Regions from separate parts of the Homo sapiens genome. Here region 1 is linked to region 2. Evidence: promoter capture Hi-C in human tissues and cell types (Jung and others, 2019). All regions are on one chromosome and are shown on one strand. Each heading gives the region's core, a stretch centred on a gene start or on the middle of the fragment in contact. The rest is flanking DNA. Distances are from core to core; before and after follow the strand shown. Region 1 overlaps EIF4B (eukaryotic translation initiation factor 4B). Region 2 holds the start of ITGB7 (integrin subunit beta 7).

Evidence for each region. Contacts are between HindIII fragments. The study calls those that stand out against the background at their distance.
Region 1: a fragment that was not itself captured here is called in contact with the fragment with the promoter of ITGB7 in region 2 in 1 of the 25 tissues and cell types used here (dorsolateral prefrontal cortex).

The regions. Positions count from the first base shown.
Region 1 is chr12:53,031,288-53,037,994 of GRCh38, forward strand. It overlaps EIF4B (eukaryotic translation initiation factor 4B), which reads left to right. Exons shown (of 15, transcript NM_001417.7): 9 at 2,519-2,747; 10 at 3,325-3,422; 11 at 6,122-6,335. Among named protein-coding and RNA genes, the nearest start is that of TNS2, 15 kb to the right of the region's middle. The HindIII fragment of the contact is 9,298 bases long and covers 624-6,707 here.
Region 2 is chr12:53,202,301-53,209,122 of GRCh38, forward strand. ITGB7 (integrin subunit beta 7) reads right to left here and starts at 4,951. Exons shown (of 16, transcript NM_000889.3): 1 at 4,902-4,951. RefSeq lists an enhancer at 2,991-3,080. The HindIII fragment of the contact is 22,503 bases long and covers 1-6,822 here.

The DNA.
Region 1 (6,707 bases), core at 4,023-6,522, 170 kb before region 2:
CTTCTTGAGACAGGATCTCACTCTGTCGCCCAGGCTAGAATTGCTGTGACATAATCATGGTTAACTGTAGCCTCAGCCTTCTGAGCTCAAGTGATCCTCCTTCCTCATCCTCCCCAGTAGCTGGGACTAGAGGTGCGTGCCATATGCCTGGCTAATTTTGATATTTTTTCTAAAGATGGGGTTTCTCCACATTGCCCAGGCTGGTTTTAAACTTCCAAGTTCAAGTGATCCACTTGCCCTCGGCCTACCAAAGTGCTGGGATTACAGGCGTGAGCCACTGTGCCCGGCTGCGTTCTTTTATTAATATCTTAAATGAGCTACTTTTTCTGAGCCCCTATTTTATCTTACAAAAGTGACGGGGCTATAACACAGATTTAAAATATGTTTAGGAACATATATAAACTGTCGGCTTAAAGCCCTCGTAGAAAATTTAGATCTTGTTAAACAGTACCCTCTATCTACAGGTACTATGTGCATATGTAGTAAAAGTATAAAATCAAGTGTGGGCATGATGAAGTCACCATCTAGTGGTTATTTAGAGGACAGAGTACAGCTGGTCATGTCATCAGGAGGTTTTACCTCTTTGTTAAGGTTACATTACTTAAGCCAGGTGATTGTATACATAGGCTTTCTTTATATTCTCTGTATCTTTTGTATATCCAAAATATTTAGGACAAACAATCATTTTTAGAAATTTAACTTCCTTGAAACACTTAGGTTTCTCTTGAAAGTGTTCTGACAACTTGAATTGAGGAAGAAATCAGACTGCCTGCCTTAAGAGTTTATTTGTTCAGTGTTACATGCTTTGCCCCATGAACCACCTGCCAAATTTATATTATACACAGAGACAAGGGTATAAGATCTAGAGTCTTCCTGGCTGGGCGTGGTGGCTCACATCTGTAACAGCACTTTGGGAAGCCAAGGCAAGCGGATCACTTGAGGTCGGGAGTTCAAGACCAGCCTGGCCAACATGGTGAAGCCCCATCTCTACTAAAAATACAAAAATTAGTTGGGCATGGTGCCACGTGCCTATACTCCCAGCTACTGAGGAAGCTGAGGCAGGAAAATCAGGGAGGCAGAGGTTGCAGTGAGTTGAGATCACACCACTGCCCTCCAGCCTGGGTGACAGAGCGAGACTGTCTCAAAAAAAATAAAGAACTAGAATCTTCCCTATCATATTGTATTAGTTCTTAACATGCAGATTTCGGAGCAAGATACTTTCATCCAGTAGTTTAATGATGGTCAAAAATTTCTTCCCATATAAAAGAAGTCTTGATAGATTATTAATTTATTACTTAAATGTTTACCATTTTTAGTCTTTCCTGTGGTCTTGTACTACATCATGGATGTGGTAGAAGAGTAATTGAACTTGGGTTTTTTTGTTTTTTTTTTTTTTTGAGATGGAGTTTGGCACTTGTTGCCCAGTTTGGAGTGCAGTGGTGTGTTCTCAGCTCACTGCAACCTCCGCCTCCCCGGTGGGTTCAAGCGATTCTCCTGCCTCAGTCTCCTGAGTAGCTGGGACTACAGGCATGTGCCACCACTCCTGGCTAATTTTGTATTTTTAGTAGAGATGGGGTTTCTCCATATTGGTCAGGCTGGTCTCGAACTCCTGATCTCAGGTGATCCGCCCGCCTCAGCCCCCCAAAGTGCTGGGATTACAGGCGTGAGCCATTGCGCCCGGCCAGAACTTGGTTATTTATGCCACCTATTTTTATTTTTATTTATTTTTATTTATTTATTTTAGGCGTAGTTTTGCTTTTGTTTTCCAGCCTGGAGGGCTGGAGTGCAGTGGTGCGATCCTGGCTCACCACAACCTCTGCCTCCCAGGTTCAAGCGATTCTCCTGCCTCAGCCTCCCGAGTAGCTGGGATTATAGGCATGCACCACCATGCCTGGCTAATTTTTTATTTTTACTAGAGACGGGGTTTCTCCATGTTGGTTGTGTTGGTCTCGAACTCCCGACCCCAGGTGATCCACCCGCCTCGGCCTCCCAAAGTATCGGGATTACAGACGTGAGCCACCACGCCCAGCCTGAGCTACCTATTTTCTTTTTTTTTTTTCTTTTTTTTATTTTTGAGACGGAGCCTTGCTCTGTCACCAGGCTGAAGTGCAGTAGCTCGATCTTGGCTCACTGCAACCTCTGCCTCCCAGGTTCAAGCAATTCTCTTGCCTCAGCCTCCTGAGTAGCTGGGACTACAGGTGCGCGCCCCAACGCCCAGCTAATTTTTGTATTTTTAGTAGAGACGGGGTTTCACCATGTTGTCCAGGATAGTCTCGATCTCTTGGCCTTGTGATCCACCCGCCTCGGCCTCCCAAAGTGCTGGGATTACAGGCGTGAGCCACCATGCCCAGCCTAAACTACCTGTTTTCTAATGATCTATTTGCCTTCTGTGGATTGGTTAGGCCACTAACTTGAATCTCATGTAGCATTTCATAGGAGTTATATCTGAGAAATCTGGCTTTCAGCCATCAGCTTCTGGTGATTGGAAAACTATTACTTAAAGTTTCATTTAACTTAGGTCCCCCCCAAAGACCCAAACTGAATCTAAAGCCTCGGAGTACTCCTAAGGAAGATGATTCCTCTGCTAGTACCTCCCAGTCCACTCGAGCTGCTTCTATCTTTGGAGGGGCAAAGCCTGTTGACACAGCTGCTAGAGAAAGAGAAGTAGAAGAACGGCTACAGAAGGAACAAGAGAAGTTGCAGCGTCAGCTGGATGAGCCAAAACTAGAACGACGGCCTCGGGAGAGGTGTGTTGTCTTGATGGATATCCCATCTAGGAATCCGGTGGTTCGTAATGGGGGCATTACATCCCCAGGGGCATTTGGGAAATTTGTGTCGTTATCACATTAGTGGTTGTCACTGATGGGCATTTAGTGGGCTGTGGCCAGGGGTGTTAGGCAGTATGCAGTGTTAGGGACAGTTTTACACAATGAAGAGTTGTTCCCTGTCCATTACAAAAGTGTTTACTATTAAAAGCTGGTATTGTATCTAAAAGGCTAGAGACCTACTATAATAAGTAATTGCCCTGAAAAACTAGGCCTGGTAATGAGTGGCTTGTAGAACTGTGTTGATTAGTAAAGAAGGGCAGTATTGTAGATTATGTAGGATACTGTTCTTAACCATATTAGTTGATTCTTGCTGAAGTATTTAGGGCCAAAGTGTGTCTTAATGTCTGTAGCTTTCAAATAGTTTGAGGGAAAGATAAATTTATATGCATATACACATATAGATGAAGTAAGTGATGGTTCTTGAGGGGTCAGCATGGGTCTAAGGTGGCCTTCACTGAGCCAGGCATAATGTGTATTTTGTGAATCTCTCGTACAGACACCCAAGCTGGCGAAGTGAAGAAACTCAGGAACGGGAACGGTCGAGGACAGGAAGTGAGTCATCACAAACTGGGACCTCCACCACATCTAGCAGAAGTAAGTCAGACCAGGGTGGGTATCGTGTTATTGCCGTTTTCCATAAACTATCCATAACCAAATTATGCAGAGACCCTGCAATATTTAAATTCAGTCATGAACTCTTTATTTGGGTTGCATGGGCCGATTGGAGTTTCATATCTTCTGCTCCAAAGAATCTGAGGAATGGGTACCAGAGTAGACCTAGATGATCTGCTTAATAATCTACCACTGAAGTGTATACTTGGTTGTTAGGTTTGTCTCTCTCTTTTTTTTTTTTTTTTTTTTTTGGTATATTTTCATTTTATGTCTTGACATCTTTGAATGTTGTTTATTCAGAACAGTCAACGGCTTGGAGTTTCATGTGAGCTGTCCCAAGACCAGCCTTTTTTGATGTTATCATCACCAGAGCAGTGTTCTCAAGCAGTGTTATTACTGGTTGATCAAGCACTTTTAGTGTTTTGGAAACCTAAATGGTTCAATTGTAATACCTCCCTTCCCTTACCATGATGTGTTTTTTTTGTATTTTGTTTTGAGACAGGGTCTTACTCTGTCACACAGGCTGGAGTGCAGTGGCATGATGATGGCTCACTGTAGCCTCACCTCCCTCAGCCCTCAGCCTCCCTAGTAGCTGGAACTGTAGGCATGCACCACTACACCCAGCTAAATTTTTTATTTATTTATTTTCTTTTTTTTTTGAGACCGAGTCTCGCTCTGTCGCCCAGGCTGGAGTGCAGTGGCGCGATCTCGGCTTACTGCAAGTTCTGCCTCCCGGGTTCATGCCATTCTCCTGCCTCAGCCTCCCGAGTAGCTGGGACTACAGGTGCCCACCACCACACCCAGCTAATTTTTTGTATTTTTAGTAGAGATGGGGTTTCACTGTGTTAGCCAGGATGGTCTCAATCTCCTGACCTCATGATCCACCCGACTCGGCCTCCCAAAGTACTGGGATTACAGGCGTCAGCCACCGCACCCAGCCTACACCCAGCTAAAATTTTGTAGAGATGGTTTCCCCATGTTGCCCAGGCTGGTCTCAGCCTCATAAAGTGCTGGGATTCCAAGGGCCAGCCACTGTGATATTTTTTAAGGTCTTTCCTCCCACCTCTAAATTGATTTGTACTTGCATTTCATTCATTTATTTATTTATTGAGATGGAGTCTCGCTCTGTTACCAGGCTGGAGTGCAGTGGCACGATTTTGGCTCACTGCAACCTCTGACTCCCTGGTTCAAGCAATTCTCCTGCCTCAGCCTCCTGAGTAGATGGGATTACAGGTGAGCGCCACCATGCCCGACTAATTTTTTGAACGGGCTGGTCTCAAACTCCTAACCTCATGATCCACCCGTCTCGGCCTCCCAAAGTGCTGGGATTACAGACGTGAGCCACCATGCCTGGCCTTCTATTTTTTTTATTTTTTATTTTTGTATTTTATTTATTTATTTTGAGACGGAGTTTCGCTCTTTTTGCCCAGGCTGGAGTGCAATGGCATGATCTCAGCACACTGCAACCTCTGCCTCCCGGGTTCAAGTGATTCTCCTGCCCAAGCCTCCCGAGTAGCTGGGATTACAGGAGTCTGCCACCAGGCCTGGCTAATTTTTTGTATTTTTAGTAAAGACGGGGTTTCACCATGTTGGCCAGGATTGTCTCCATCTCTTGATCTTGTGATCTGCCCGCCCTGGCCTCCCAAAGTGCTGGGATTACGGGCGTGAGCCGCCGTGCCCGGCCTAGTTTTTTATTTTTAAGACAGGGTTTCATTCTCACCCAGGCTGGAGTGCAGTGGTGCGATCATAGCTCACTGCAGCCTCAAACTCCTGGCCTCAAGCAATCCTCTTGCCCCAATATCCCAAGTAGCTGTTATACGACGGGTGCACGCAACCATGCCTGGCTAAATTTAAAAAATTTGTTTTTTTAGAGATGGGGTCTCACTACACTCCCCAGGCTGGTCTCAAACTCCTGGCCTCAAGCAATCCTGCCTCAGCCTCCCAATGGGGGCTCCTTGTTTTTAGAAGACACTTAACTGCATTTTTTAAAAAACGCACGTGTAGGTTGTTGTTTTTTGAGATGGAGTCTCACTCTGTCAGCCAGGCTGGAGTGCAGCAACATGATCACAGCTCACCTCATCATTTCTAGTAGCTGGGACTGCAGGCACATGCCACATCCAGCTAATTTGTCTATTTTTTGTAGAGCTGGGGTTTCACCATGTTGTCCAGGCTGGTCTGAAACTCTTAGGCTCAAACGATCCGCCCCCAACAGCCTCCCAATATCCTAAGATTACAGGCGAGAGCCACTGCACCCAGCCAGTAGGTGGTTTTTCATAAATATGATTGCATCATAGTCCATGTGTGTTGAGTTTTAAGCTGAAGTTGAGCAGTGGTTACTAGAGTTTGGGGTTTCATTGTAGGTCCTCTTCACATATGTATATTCTCCAGGTCAAGACACTTTTAACATTGAGAATGCAGAAAGGCTGTAAAGGATACTCATTCCTAAAAAGGTCACATGGCTGGGTGTCCCTTAAGTTGTATACATGGTCATTATTTTTTCTATTTCTCTGTGCATCAGTAAGACATTGTTCTGGAAATACTTGTAAACCACTGGTTTAGGGATAAATCCATCTTTGGGAGCCAAAACTTGGATGTGGACCATTTTCCACACTGTTGAGATCCTGGTAGATGCGTGAGCATCTGCAGCCTGATAATTTGATATTTTCACTCTGGCTTCACAGATGCACGAAGGAGAGAGAGTGAGAAGTCTCTAGAAAATGAAACACTCAATAAGGAGGAAGATTGCCACTCTCCAACTTCTAAACCTCCCAAACCTGATCAGCCCCTAAAGGTAATGCCAGCCCCTCCACCAAAGGAGAATGCTTGGGTGAAGCGAAGTTCTAACCCTCCTGCTCGATCTCAGAGCTCAGACACAGAGCAGCAGTCCCCTACAAGGTGAGTCAGTTTGGAAACAGTAGTTGGTTAACTGCAGATTCTAAAATACTGTGATGTAATGATGGAAGATCTCCTACGGGATGCCAGCGTTGTATAGCACCTTATAAGTTATGCTGGCTTTAGTCTCTTAGTGTGCTGGAACTGGCTCATAAGACCTAGTTGTTCCATTTTCTGGAGTTCCACCACTTTGATAGCTTGAAATCAGCTATGATGGGAGTACTAATGCCGCACAAATCTGCAAATACTGTAAGTCAGAGGCTTCCCTTTTGCCACATATTGGCAGTATGGTAGGGGGTAACTTCCTTTCATTTCTCTTAAGTCTTCTCATTTGTAAGCAAAATAGCAACACTATTAGCCTGGCGTGGTGGCAGG
Region 2 (6,822 bases), core at 3,701-6,200:
GTGAGCTGCAATTGTGCCACTGCCCTGCAGCCTGGACAACAGAGTGAAACTCTGTCTTTTTTGTTTTGTTTTGTTTTTTTGAGATGGAGTCTTGCTCAGGCTGGAGTGCAGTCGCGCCATCTCAGCTCACTGCAACCTCTGCCTCCCAGATTCAAGCAATTCTCTGGCCTCAGGCGCCCAAGTATCTGGGACTACAGGCATGCGCCACCACACCCGACTAGTTTTTGTATTTTTAGTAGAGAGAGGGTTTGACCACATTGGCCGGGCTGGTCTCAAACTCCTGACCTCAAGTGATCCACCTGCCTCAGGCTCCCAAAGTGCTGGGATTACAGGCATGAGCTGGGATTACATGCCCAGCTGAAACTCCATCTTTAAAAAAAGGCCAGGTACCGTGGCTCATGCCTGTAATCCCAACACTTTGGGAGGCCGAGACAGGCAGATCACAAGGTCAGGAGTTCAAGACCAGCCTGGCTAACATAGTGAAACCCCGTCTCTACTAAAAATACAAAAATTAGCCGGGTGTAGTGGCACACGCCACCACTTTTTCTCAAAAAATAAAAGGTGCTTTCAACATGCAAAAGAATGAAGTTGGACCCCCTCCCCACCTCACACCATATACAAAGGTTAACTGAAAAGAGATCAAAGCCCTAAATATAACTACTAAAACTATAAATTCTTAGAAGAAAGTATATAGGTAAATCTTCATAATCTTGGACTTGGTAATGGATTCTTAGCTGTAATACCAAAAGCACAAACAACAAAAGGAAAAACAGATACATTGGACTTCATCAAAAATTTAAAGTTTTGTGCATCAAAGACAATGTCAAGAGAGCGAAGACAACCCACAGAATGGGAGAAAATATTTGCAGATTATATATCAGATGAGTATCCTTAATATATAACGAACTCTTACAATTCAACAACAAAAAGACAACCCAACTTTCAAAATGAGCAAAAGACTTAAAAAGACATTTCTTCAAAGAAGATAGACAAATAGCCACCCAGCAAATGAAAAGATGCTCAACACTATTAATCATTAGGAAAATGCAAATGAAACCCACAATGATCTGGGTATGGTGGCTCACACCTGTAATCCTAGCACTTTGGGAGGCTGAGGTGGGTGGATCACTTGAGGTCAGGAGTTCAAGACCGGCCTGGGCAACATGGTGAAACCCCATCTTTGCTAAAAATACAAAACTTAACTGGGCATGGTGGTACATGCCTGTAGCTCCAGCTACTCGGGAAACTGAGGCACAAGAATCGCTTGAACCCGGGAGGCAGAGGCTTCAGTGAGCCAAGATCGGGCCACTGCACTCCAGCCTAGGCGACAGAGCGAGACCCTGTCTCAAAAAAAAAAAAAAAAAAAAAAAAGAAAGAAAGAAAAGAAAAGAAGAAGAAAAAAACCACAATGAGATACCACTTCACTTCTACTAGAATGACTATCAAAAAATGAAAAACAATGAGTGTTGATGAGAACATGGAGAAATTGGGATCTTTATACATTACCGTGTAAGGAATGTAAAGTGGTACAATCTCTGTGGAAAACAATTTGGTTCCTCAATAAATTGAGCATAGGATTATCCTATAACCTGGCAATTTCACTCTTAGGTATATACTCAGAAGAATTGAAAACAGGTGTTCAAACAAAAACTGGTACAGAAATGTTCACAGCAGCACTACTCACAATAGCTAAAAGGTAGAAAGAACCCAGATGTCCATCAACTGATGAATGGATAAAGAAAAGGTGGTATATCCATACAGCAGAACGTTATTTGGCCATAAAAAGCAATGAAATGGGTCTGGGCACAGTGGCTCACGACTGTAATCCCAGCACTTTGGGAGGCCGAGGCGGGTGGATCACTTGAGATCAGGAGTTCAAAACCAGCCATACCAACATGGTGAAACCCCATATCTACTAAAAATACAAAAATTATCCAGGCATGGTGGTGGTCTCCTGTAACCCTAGCTACTTGGGAGGCTGAGGCAGGAAAATCGCTTGAACCCAGGAGGCGGAGGTTGCAGTGAGCCGAGATTGTGCCATTTCATTCCAGCCTGGGCAACAAGAGCAAAACTCGGTCTCAAAAAAAAAAAAAAAATGAAGTACTGATACATACATGCTACAACATGGATGAACCTTGAAAACATGCTCAGTGAACAAAACCATTCATGAAAGGTCACATATTGTATGATTCCACATATGGAACATATCCAAACTAGAAAAATCCACAGAGACAGAAGGTAGATTAGTGGTTACCAGAGCTTGGGAGAAGGGGAAGTGGGGAATGACTGCTTAATGGGCAGTTTCATTTTAGGGTGATGAATAAGTTCTGGAATTAGTGAATGTACTTAATGCCACTGAATTGTACACTTAAAAGGGGTAAAAATGATAAATGTTTGTGTATCTTACCATTTTAAAAATCAAAAAGTTAAATAAGATGGTGAGAAATCTCCTACTCCATATGCCATACCCAGTTCCCACACCTACCCTAAATAAATATCATTTACTACTATCTTTGTTTCTTTTTTCTTTACCTTTTTTTTTTTTTTTTTTTTGGCAGAGTCCCACTCTGTCGACCAGGCTGGAATGCAGTGGCGTGATGTACAACCTCTGCCTCCTGGGTTCAAGTGAGTCGTGTGCCTCATCCTCCTGAGTAGCTGGGATTACAGGTGTGAGCCACCACACCCAGCTAATTTTTGTGTTTTTAGTAGAGACAGAGTTTCACTATGTTGGCCAGGCTGGTCTCGAACCCCTGACTTCAAGTGATCCACCCACCTCGGCCTCCCAAAGTGCTGGAATTACAGGCATGAGCCACTGTGCCTGGCCTTAAATTGTTTCTAGTTCCCTATGACAAATAATGCTGAAATGAAAAGTAATGTATGTATTTATTTATTTATTCATTTGAGAGATAGGGTCTTGCTCTGTCACCCGGCTGTAGTGTACTGGTGCAATCATGGCTCACTGCTGCCTTGACCTTGCCGGCTCAATTGATCCTTCCACCTCAGCCTCCCGAGTAGCTGGTACTACAGGCGCATGCTACCATGTCTGGCTAATTATTTTTGTATTATTTTGCAGAGATGGGGCTTCCCCATGTTGCCCAGGCTGGTCTAGAACTCCTGAGCTCAAGCGACCCACCTGCCTCGGCCTCCCAAATTGCCGTGATTACAGGCGTGAGCCATCACCCCCAGCCAAATGTCATGTATTTATCATTTCACACGTCTGCAACTGAATCTGTAGGATAAATCCCTAGCAGAGGACGTGCAGGATAACTAGATAGGTATCATTTGTAATACTGGTGTGTATTTCATCTACATTCTCATGCTAAGAAATATATATATATAGGTGGGTATTGCCAACATAAACTCTTCAGGACTTGTACTGGTCCACATTCCCATCAGCAATGTATGAGAAAGGCCAACTAACTCCTTGTCATAAACCATTTGCATCTTCTTCAGCCTGGGCCCAGAGTCAGGTCCAGATACTCTGCACAGAGTGTGGGAAAGGGGTGGGGTGTTGAGTCCTTGAATGTCCTGGTCCTGCTCCCCACCACCTGTGACCTCAGGCGCCATATATAACGGAGCCTCCACCCCTCGGGGAGAGGCCAGTCCCAGCTCAGCCTCAGCGTAACCTCAGCCCTGCTTGCTCTGCATGCCTGTGGTCAGGGAGGCTGGAGATGCTGCAACCCAAAGCCGGGTTTTGACTCATCTCTCACAAGTGGAGCCCCGGCTGCCGCATAGGTTTTTCAGAGACCTTAGGCCCACTCATCTCCCCTTAAAGGGGGCCCTGGGACTTCCTGGACAGCCCTTTCCTACCTTTCTTTCCAATTATCCTCTCTTCTCCCCTCCTTGAGAATACATGTTCTGCCACCTATTTCTCTGTCTGCTTCTCTGTCTCTCTCTGGCTCCTTTCATTTCAAAACTTCTATTGCATCTCTCTGCTGCTTTTCTCTGCTCCACTTCTTCATAGGGCTATTTTACTTCCTTTTCCCCTCTGTTCCTAACTATAGAATGGCTGAATCTACTACTCCATCCCACTCTTTTTACAAATGGAAACCTAAATTCCATGAGGCCAGGGTCACCCAGTGAACTAGGGGCAGGGCAGGACAGGGCAGGGCCAGGCCTCTGCTGTGCTTTCTCCTTTCCTCCCTCCAACCCAGGCACTATCTCCATCAAAAGTTGTGTTCTCTCCCCACTAGCCCTGGTGGGCTCTGCCTAATCCCATTTCTCTTTCCTTAGGGGTATTCTGCAGTCTTCCCTTCTCTCTCTGGGACCAAGTGGTTATTTCCATTTTTCTGGACTCCATTCTGACTCCAGTACACACCCTGTGACCCCCCTCAGCAGCTGAGAAACAGAGCCTCTTCCAAACCCATCCCTACCTTCCAAATCAAGCAGAACCCTCTGCTGCCCACTGGGAGTCACAAGGAGGGGACGGAACTGAGCTGCTGGGCCTCAGTGTCCCAGGACAGTGGAGTCTGTGACCAAGGTGCCGATTAGGAAGAAGTCTGAGCTGAAGGCAGAGCATTAGGGATAGCAGCTGGGGGTGATGTTGGAAGAACCCTCCCTCAGTATAATCGGTATACCTGCCCTACTTCGGTATAGTCCTTGGCACATGGCAGGCACTCAGATGACAGCACTCATATACATCCCTGCCTCCAGACCCACTCATGGGAAACTGATGCAGGAGAGATTGGGCTTTTGGAGAGGTGGAGGTGGGGGTACTGTGAAACTGGAGGAGGGAACCAGGTCAGGGGATCTTAGGAATGCAGAAAGGAGTTCAGAGCCTTTCTCAAGTCTGGACAGGACCCTCGGTATCCAGGTCAGAGCCCTCTTCCCAAGAGGTTGGGACCAGGTGGGCCAGAGCTTGTAAGGAGAGGAGGCAGAAGGGCTGGTGCCCTGGTACTCACAGGTGCGTGCAGAGCAGTCCTTCCTCTGGCGGCAGCAGCAGCCTTTGTGTACTGATCTGGGAGACGGCAGAGGAGGAAGTGACACTCCCCAGGGTGGGGAAGATTTGGGGTTGGTGGGGGTGACTGATCTAGAAGGTGGTGCAGATAGGGGTGGGGCTGAGCCAAGGGAGTGGACAATACAGAGATCTGGAAGAAAGAAGCCCATTTATTGAACCCCTGTCATGTGTTGAACGTAACATATTACAATTAACCCTCACAACAATCTCATAAGATAGGGGTTAATATTCCCCCAAGCCCCAATTTTACAGATGCAGAGATTGAGGCTTGGAAGCAGGAAATAAAGAATTTTGCCCAAGGTCCCACAGCTAGTAAGTAGCTAGTCTAGGATTTAAAAAAAAAAAAGAAAAAAGATTTTTATTTTAAATTTTTATTATTTTATTTTTTTTATTTTAATTTAATTTAACTTTTGAGACAGGGTCTTGCTCTGTTTCCCAGGCACAATCTCAGCTCACTGTCCCATGGCACAATCTCAGCTCACTGCAAACTCCGCCTCCCAGGTTCAAGCGATTCTCCTGCCTCAGCCTCCCGAATAGCTGGGATTACAGGGGTGCACTACCATGCCCAGCAACGTTTTATATTCTTAATAGAGACGGGGTTTCACCATGTTGGCCAGGCTGGTCTCAAACTCTTGACCTCAATTGATCTGCCCACCTCGGCCTCCCAAAGTGCTGGGATTACAGGTGTGGGCCACCATGCCCAGCCTGTTTTTTATTTTTGAGACAGGGTCTTGCTGTGTTGCCCAGGCTGGTCTGTAACTCCTGGACTCAAGCAATCCTCCCACTTTGGCCTCCTGAGTAGCTGGGATTACAGGCACACTCGGCTGGTCTGGGATTTAAATCCAGGTCTGCCTGCCTCCAAAATTCATGATCTCTCCATTTACTTATATAGGAAGGAACATGATAGGAGGGAATAGGGGCAGTAAGTACTGTAGAGAGGCCAGAAATTACAGACTTGTTCATTTTGAAAACCCAGGATACATTATATAAGTGTGCTTGACTACATAGGCTCTGGAGCCAAGTTGCTAGAGTTCAAATCCTGGCTCTACTACTTACTAGTAGTAAGGAGCTTAGCTGAGTTACTTAAACCTGCCTGCAGCTGTTTTCTCATCTGTCCAGCAAGACTCACAGGATTGTCGTGAGAATTAAAAGAGATAATTCATATCAATTGCCTACAAGACTACCTGGCACATACTAAGTAAGGGCTTGATAAGAGAATTAGTAGGGATGAGAAGTAGCAGAGGTGAGAAGTGAAGAGGCTTTGAGAAATTCAAGGTCCACACAACTGGAAACTTGGAAGAGAGAGGCATAGGGCCAGGCTCAGAGCATGTGATTGGGGAACCAGGAGCCAACACAGTAGTGGATCCTGGGAAAGGGGTGGAGGAGGTGAACTGGGAGAAGCAGAGAGTGCAGGAACAACAGCTGAAGCCAAGGCAAGGATGAAGCCCGTAGGGAGAGCAGGAAAATATTAATGGGATTTGCTCCTGGCCCATACAGATCACTAAGAGCTTTGAGAGGGAACTAGACATGAGGTCTGTGTTCACAGGTCGATCTCCCCTACCAGAAGGAGCACTCCTTGTAGGCAGGGACTGGCTCTACAAGGCTTCCCTGCTGGAGCCACCACACCTAGCCAAGTGCCCATCTTATAGTAGGTGCTCAATAAATGTCAGATGGATTGCAGAGGTGTAGCTGCTAGGAGGGGACAATTGGAGAGGAGGGGCTCTTTCTCTGGGTGGGCTTGGCTGGCCTCAGGCTATGGGATAGCCAGGACCTATACCCTTCCCCCACAACCAGGGGTTACCACGGCAATGACCCTCCTTCCCCACAGGCCCTGTGGTTTCCTCTAGAGCTTCTTTCACTTTCTT